Linked DNA regions of Homo sapiens: region 2 is linked to region 1. The links are contacts of gene promoters, found by promoter capture Hi-C in blood cells and fetal thymus (Javierre and others, 2016). All regions are on one chromosome and are shown on one strand. The core of a region is centred on a gene start or on the middle of the fragment in contact, and the rest is flanking DNA. Distances in the headings are between cores, read along the strand shown. Region 1 holds the start of COX6A1 (cytochrome c oxidase subunit 6A1). Region 2 overlaps RSRC2 (arginine and serine rich coiled-coil 2).

Region 1 (3,511 bases), core at 1,012-3,511:
GACAGATCATATATAAAAACAAAATGGAAATTAGTCCTTTATCTACTGGTGTAGTTCAACCTTCCCATTATTTAAGGAGCTCTTATAACTACCAGGGGAGCCCTTAAAGTTATCCTGGCTACAGGACAGTTTTAATTCCAGAAACAAATATGGATGGCAGAAAATGCAAGCTCAAGTTAGTTACTCATCATCCTCTCCCTAGTAACTAGTATATCCAGTGCTGTGTTTATGAAAGTGTAATCCTCAAATCACCTATATCAAAATGGTGGCAGTATTAGGGGAGGGAGATGCTTAATTAAATGCAGATTTCTGGCACCATCCCAGACTTCAAACAATATCTGGGCTGGGAAACTGCAGCCCACCCTGAATTATCTTGCCTATTACCTTTGAAAAGCATTACTTTAGGGCAACGGTCTCCAACCCAGGGTGATTTTGCCCCTTCAGGGCACACTGGGTAGTATCGGGAGACACTGTGATGGGGGCGGGGGAGGGGGAAGCGGGAGTGGGGTTGCGCAGGTACTACTGCCACCTAGTGGGTACAGGCCAAGGATATGGCTAAACATTTCACAATGCACAAGATAGCCCCCCAACAAGAATTACCCAGCCCCAAATGTCAACAGTGCTGAGGCTGAGAAACCTTTACTGTTTGGCTTCTAATTGCATTGTACAAGGATGGGAGTGCCGCTCAAAGACTCAACAAATTCAAGAGTCTAGGTTAAGTTTCTACAAGGCCAGTCCTATATGGGCTAGGTGATGTAATAATAATAATAATAATAATAACTTTTTTCATCACTTCTCGGCCTTTTGGCTAAGATCAAGTATATTATTACTATTTTTTTTTGAGACGGAGTTTCACTCCTGTTGCCCAGGCTGCAGTGCAATGGCTGGATCTTGGCTCACTGCAACCTCCTCCTCCTGGGTTCAACCTCCTAGATTCTCCCACCGCAGCCTCCCGAGTAGCTGGGATTACAGGCGCCCGCCACCACGCCCGGCTACTTTTTGTACTTTTAGTAGAGATAGTGTTTCGCCATGTTGACGAGGCTGGTCTTGAACTCCTGACCTCCGGCGATCCACCCACCTTGGCCTCCCAAAGTGCTGGGATTACAGGCGTGAGCCACCGCGCATGGCCAGTATTGAAGAATCAGAATAAGCCCTTGTTAAAGATACAGCAAACAACAGAGGACACAACATTGTAATATATCTACATCAACAACCAATGATAAAACAGTCGAGAAAAGGTATTGGTGGGGAATAGAGAAAGCTGTCAGTCTCTTCATTATGCAACTAGTAGCTGCCAGATGCCCATGTTTTGTTGTTGCTGTTTTGTTTTGTTTTGAGACCAGAGTCTCGCTCTGTTGCCCAGGCCGGAGTGCAGTGGCACGATCTCAGCTCCCTGCAAACTCCGCCTCCTAGGTTCAAGGGATTCTCCTGCTTCAGCCTCCCATGTAGCTGCTGGGTTCGCTTACGCGAACCACCTTCAGACTTTGCCACTCTAATTGGATTTCCCAAACCTCCAGGCTTTACACAACGGACACCTGTTTCAGAACTGTCTCAGAAGTAAAAAAAAAAAAAAAAAAAAAAAAAAGAACTGTCTCAGAAGGCAGGAGGTAGGATGAATCGGAGAAAAGGGAAACTGAAGAGCACTTATTGTATGACCTTGAAGAAGAGAATTGAGACGTAATCCCAAGTGTCAGCTGTCCATCCACAAAATGGAAGAAAATACATTTTCTGTTTGTGAGGATAAACAAGCTGTACACGCCTGGCACCCATGCCTTCAGAGAATGAAGAACTTGCACTAAGGCACACATAACGAAAAGAGAACGGACGCTTGAAGAGATGTACAAGGGCGTACCTTGGTCCTGATGCGGAGATGGGGGTAGGCGATGAACTCGGGTCTCTCGTGCTCTCCGTGGTGCGACTTCAGGTACACATTCAGCATGCTGACTGCCACCCCGGGGAGCGCGACGAAGAAGGTGAGAGTCTTCCACATGCGAGCTGCGGAGAAGCCACAAACGTTCAGCGCCGGTATGGGGCGGGCCCGGGTCTCACTTTCCCTCCCGCAAGGCCTCGGGCCAAGGTCACAGTCCCTCCCTGTCTCGCCCGAGTGGGGCTGAGGCTCGACCCGTCGACCCCGGCCCCAGTACCTGAGCCCTCTTCGCCATGGGCGCCACTCGACATAGGCCGCCCCAGCTGTGGGCGGGACCGACCCAGCAGCCGAGAAACCGAGGACACACCAACTACCGCCATTTTTGATCTGGACTGCCGCAGCGCCGGAAGCGGAAGTGGAAAATTGGCTCTGGGGGCGGTACTACAACCTCCAAAGGAAGTTACTATTGGGCGCCGCCCTCCCACTGGCATTAACCTGAGCACTATCATCCGGGACGACGGAGTCCTTGTCAAAATCCTCGGCATCTCGGGCAAGAGAGAGCATGCGCTCTGCACCTCCCTTCAGGCTTTACCGTTTCCTTCGTGCGCATGCGTGTGCCCTCCGGTCTCCCTACCGTCCCCACCTGGGCGAGGCGGAAGCTCAAGAGAGGTTTGTGCAGGGTGCCCTGGTACCTGGAATCGCTCCCTTCGTTGGAGTCCATGGACGGGCATCTGGAGGTTCTGATCCCAGACCGCCCTATCTAAAATTCCGTTCCCCTTCCTCGCCATCCTCCGACTGCGTTTTCTCATAGCACATAACATTGCACCTTCGTCGTTATATTATTATTTTGTCTGTCTCCCCCACTAGAATATAAAGTCTGTGATACCAAGAGTTTGGCACTGCAGCATTCTCAGAATAATCTGGGAATGGTGTAATTTGGAATCATACCTGGCACATACCAGATACTTGATATAAATTTGCTGAATGAATGGATGAATGAATGAATAGCAACAGAAAGTATAAAGAGCACTGAAATTGGTGCCAGCAGACCTGGATCCTAATCCTGACTCAACAGTCTCATCTTTTTTTTTTTTTTTTTTTTTTTTTTTTTTGAGACGGAGTTTGACTCTTGTTGCTTAGGCTGGAGTGCAGCGGTGCAATCTTGGCTCACTGCAACCTCTGCATCCCAGGTTCAAGCAGTTCTACTGCCTCAGCCTCCTGAATAGCTGGGATTACAGGCACGCACCACCATGCCTGGCTAATTTTTTTTTTTGTACTTTGGTAGAGACAGGGTTTCACCATATTGGCCAGGATGGTCTCCATCTCCTGACCTTGTGATCCGCCTTCCTCGGCCTCCCAAAGTGCTGGGATTACAGGCGTGAGCCACTGTGCCCGGCCTTTTTTTTTTTTTTTTTTTTTTTTTTCAATAGGCCCCTTTGAGAATGTAATGAGGACCAGCGTGGTGGCTCATGGCTGTAATCCCAACACTTTGAGAGGCCGAGGCGGACAGATTGCTTGAGCTTGAGAGTTTGAGACCAGCCTGGGCAACAAAGCTTTTTTCTTTATTAGAAAAAAAAAGAATCTAATGAAAGCTTTGAACCCTTTCCTCTAAAGACACACCTATGTGTAAACACACAGTATAGC
Region 2 (3,699 bases), core at 960-3,459, 2.1 Mb before region 1:
CACTTGATCCTGGGAGGCGGAGGTTGCAGTGAGTTTCCAGCGAAACTCCATCTGGAAAAAAAAAAAAAAAATCACGCCACTGCACTTCAGCCTGGGTGAGACCCTGTCTCAAAAAACTTATAATAAGCTATGATAGTCTTATTTGCCAGTTATTAATACTAAAATAAAACATAATTGATTGAAGTCAAGCTTTCAAAGAAAACTAATATTACCATAGAAGTAGTAAGGAAAAGAGGCTACTTGGTTTAGAATTTTTCATAGATTATGAGGTACTTTTTTTTTTTTGACATTATTTGCAATGACAAATGACATTAAATGCAAATGACATGCAGTCGCAAAAATTGCATGTTGAAAAAGGTCTATGACAGGAAAATAATCCATTTTTTTATTTTATTTTTATTATTTTTGAGACAGAGTCTTGCTCTTGTCACCCAGGCTGGAATGCAGTGGTGTGATCTCAGCTCACTGCAACCTCTGCCTCCCAGGTTCAAGCAATTCTCCTGCCTCAGACTCCTGAGACCCTCCTGGGTCTACAGGTGCCCACCACCATGCCAGGCTAGTTTTTTGTATTTTTAGTAGAGACGGGGTTTCACCTAGTCATCCAGGCTAGTCTCGATCCCCTGACCTCAGGTGATTTGCCCACCTCGGCCTTCCAAAGTGCTGGGATTATAGGAGTGAAGCACGGCGCCAACCTCTTGCTTGTATTTCTTTGCTTTGTGGTTTCTTAAGTCTTGAAATAATTAAACTTACATTGATTGAATGCTATCCATGGTGTTTTTTTTTTTAATTTAGACATTGTTGAGAGATTTCATGTCCTAAAAAATATTTAAATTTTACATATTTTAAAGTTCAGTGTTTGTTAACAGGACAAATCCCAATCTGCTGAAATATGGGAAAAATTGAATTTTGGAAACAAGGACCAAAATGTCAAATTTAGGAAATTGATGGGTATTAAGGTGAGTTTCACATGTGCCAGGGGATCTTTGTATTAGCTATTAGCCCTCCTGCACTGTTCTTCCCTCATTTTCTTAGTTCTGGTCTTTACTCAGGTGTCAGCGTTTTTGAGTTCTTTCCCACCACCTTTTGTGAAATAACAAGCAATCCCATTCTGAAACATTTCCATCTCCCCTACCCACTGTCCTCCCTACACACACACTTGGAGAGAGAGAGAGAGACGGGGTTTTGCTCTGCTTGCTCTGTCACTTGGGCTGGAGTACAGTGGTGCAGTCATACCTCACTGCAGCCTTAAACTTCGAGGCTCAAGCAGTCCTTCCACCTCGGCCTCTCAAAGCCCTGGATCACAGTTCTGAGCCACTGCGCCCAGCCTCCATCCCCATTTTCTACTTTACTTTCCTCTGTGGCATTTATACCCTGACATCTTCTACATATTATGTTTTTTCCAACCTACTAAACTGAAGTTAACTTTTGTTACACCCTGCTATATTCCAGACCTAGAAAGAACATTGCCTTGTCCTTTGGAGGTGTTCAATAATGAATGGAAATTAAGTTATTGAGATCAAATACATATCCCAAAAGTATATTTTTGTTTGTTTGTTTTTTGTTTTTAGTATAGACGGGGTTTCACCATGTTGGCCAGGCTAGTCTCGAAATCCTGACCTCAGGTGATCCACCCGTCTCAGCCTCCCAAAGTGCTGGGATTACAGGCGTGAGCCACACTGCACCCGGCCAAAAGTATAATTTAATAGTGTCAGCCTAGTTCACACCTGTAATCCCAACACTTCGGGAGGCCGGGGGGCAGGCGGCAGGGGGGATCCCTGAGGTCAGGAGTTCGAGACCAGCCTGACCAATGTGGTGAAACCCCGTCTCTACTGAAAATACAAAAATTAGCTGGGCGTGGTGGCATGTGCCTCTAATCCCAGCTATTTGGGAGGCTGAGGCATAAGAATTACTTAAACCCAGGAGGCAGAGGTTGCAGTGAGCCGAGATGGCACCACTGCACTCCAGACGGGACAACAGAGCAAGACTCCATCTCAAAAAAAAAAAATACATAAAAAATAGTGTCAAGTGAGAGAATATTTATCTCCATCTGAATTCATTGTAATGTTTTATGTCTGATTTTTAGAGTGAAGATGAAGCTGGATGTAGCTCAGTTGATGAAGAAAGTTACAAGACTCTGAAGCAGCAGGAAGAAGTATTTCGAAATTTAGATGCTCAGTATGAAATGGCAAGATCACAAACCCACACACAAAGAGGAATGGGTTTGGGTTTCACATCTTCAATGCGAGGAATGGATGCAGTTTGAAAATGATCACACTTGTAAAGTTTGGGACTTATAGACTTCTTGTTCTGATGTCACGTCCTTGTTCACCAAACAGCTAGCACTCTAGCTTGCATGGGTGTTGCATTGACTTTAATTTATTGAAAAATACAAATTTTTGTAAATATCAGATCAGTGATACTGGTGTTAGTGTTGTAATCAGGTTAAACCCACTTCCATTAAACTTGACAGGACTATAGAAGGATAATATTTTTTAGTTCATGAATTCTACTTTTCAAATATATAAAAGCTGCAGGTGGGGATAAAATCTCATACATGGATTTTTTCGTGTCCGCTGTCTTGTGTACTTTTGTACTTAACCTTGTACAGTTATTTTCATCTCTTGAAACATGAAAGAAATGTTATGTAGATGTTCTTTAGAAGATCTGGCCATTTGGTACATAATCCAGCACAGATAAGCTGGGTGGTAATGATAATAAAAATGGTTTTCTCAAAACTGGTGTTAATTTAAGTTACCTGGGATGTTTCTTTGAATTTGTTTTATAGTTTCTGTAGCATTTGGCAATTGCTGTTAGAAAACACTAGCTAGAAATCCCCTCCCCACCACCCTTTTTAAGGCCAGTTAACTATACTACAGTCAATACCGTGGTGAGCAAAAATGTAAAAGGTGGAAGGAGAAAACTTACTAAAATAGTATGTTTTCCTATTATAAGGGACAGACTTGGTATTCAGTATTTGTCAAATATTACATGTGTTATTCAGGAGATAGATTAATGCATTAAAGGGATGTAAGCACTTTTATTTTAATAAAGTGCCTTATAACAAGTTCTTTGCATGCTTTTTGCTCATTATCCCTTTGAAGTCTTCTCCAGCATAGACTATAAAATATTAAAATATTAGAAATTTTTTTTGTTTGTTTTTTTGAGACAGGATCTTGCTCTGTTGCCTAAACTGGGTGCAGTGGCACAATCTCGGCTCACTGCCAGAGCCTCTGCCCCCCAGGTTCAAGCAATTCTCCCACCTCCACCTCCCATGTAACTGGGATTACAGGCGTACCACCGCACCCAGCTAATTTTTGTATTTTTAGTAGAGGTGGGGTTTTACCATGTTGGCCAGGCTGGTCCTGAACTCCTGACCTCAGGTGATCCACCCTCCTCAGCCTCCCAAAGTGCCGGGATTATAGGCGTGAGCCACTGCAGCCAGCCTAGAAAATGTTTTGTTACTAGATTGAACATAAATCTGGAGCCAAGGGGTGGGGGGGGCCTGCAAAACTTGAAGTTAATTTACTTCAGTTACAGCAAAGTAATAAGGTTTGGCTTTCCTTTGAAAAATCCTTTGGAAAACATCACAGAATGAGAGCACATTACAATCAGGGAAGACTACAGGAATAAGATTGACAGCCTTATTTTAAAAGCTGGAATTAAGTCTTGCCAACTTGCTCATTAGGTATTTTTTTTATA

What was found. The method cuts DNA at HindIII sites, captures the fragments that hold promoters and counts their contacts. A CHiCAGO score of 5 or more calls a contact.
Region 2: a contact is called between a fragment that was not itself captured here and the fragment with the promoter of COX6A1 in region 1, in 1 of 17 cell types (monocytes). The highest score is 7.1, in monocytes.

Annotation. Positions count from the first base shown.
Region 1 is chr12:120,436,863-120,440,373 of GRCh38, reverse strand. COX6A1 (cytochrome c oxidase subunit 6A1) reads right to left here and starts at 2,261. Exons shown (of 3, transcript NM_004373.4): 1 at 2,145-2,261; 2 at 1,853-1,995. The coding sequence starts at 2,247. It also overlaps the pseudogene LOC124903126. RefSeq lists enhancers at 1,567-2,088, 2,015-2,224. The HindIII fragment of the contact is 8,043 bases long and covers 1-3,422 here.
Region 2 is chr12:122,504,091-122,507,789 of GRCh38, reverse strand. RSRC2 (arginine and serine rich coiled-coil 2) reads left to right here. Exons shown (of 10, transcript NM_023012.6): 9 at 867-956; 10 at 2,084-3,699. The coding sequence ends at 2,263. Among named protein-coding and RNA genes, the nearest start is that of ZCCHC8, 5.0 kb to the right of the region's middle. RefSeq lists a silencer at 3,521-3,699. The HindIII fragment of the contact is 4,035 bases long and covers 192-3,699 here.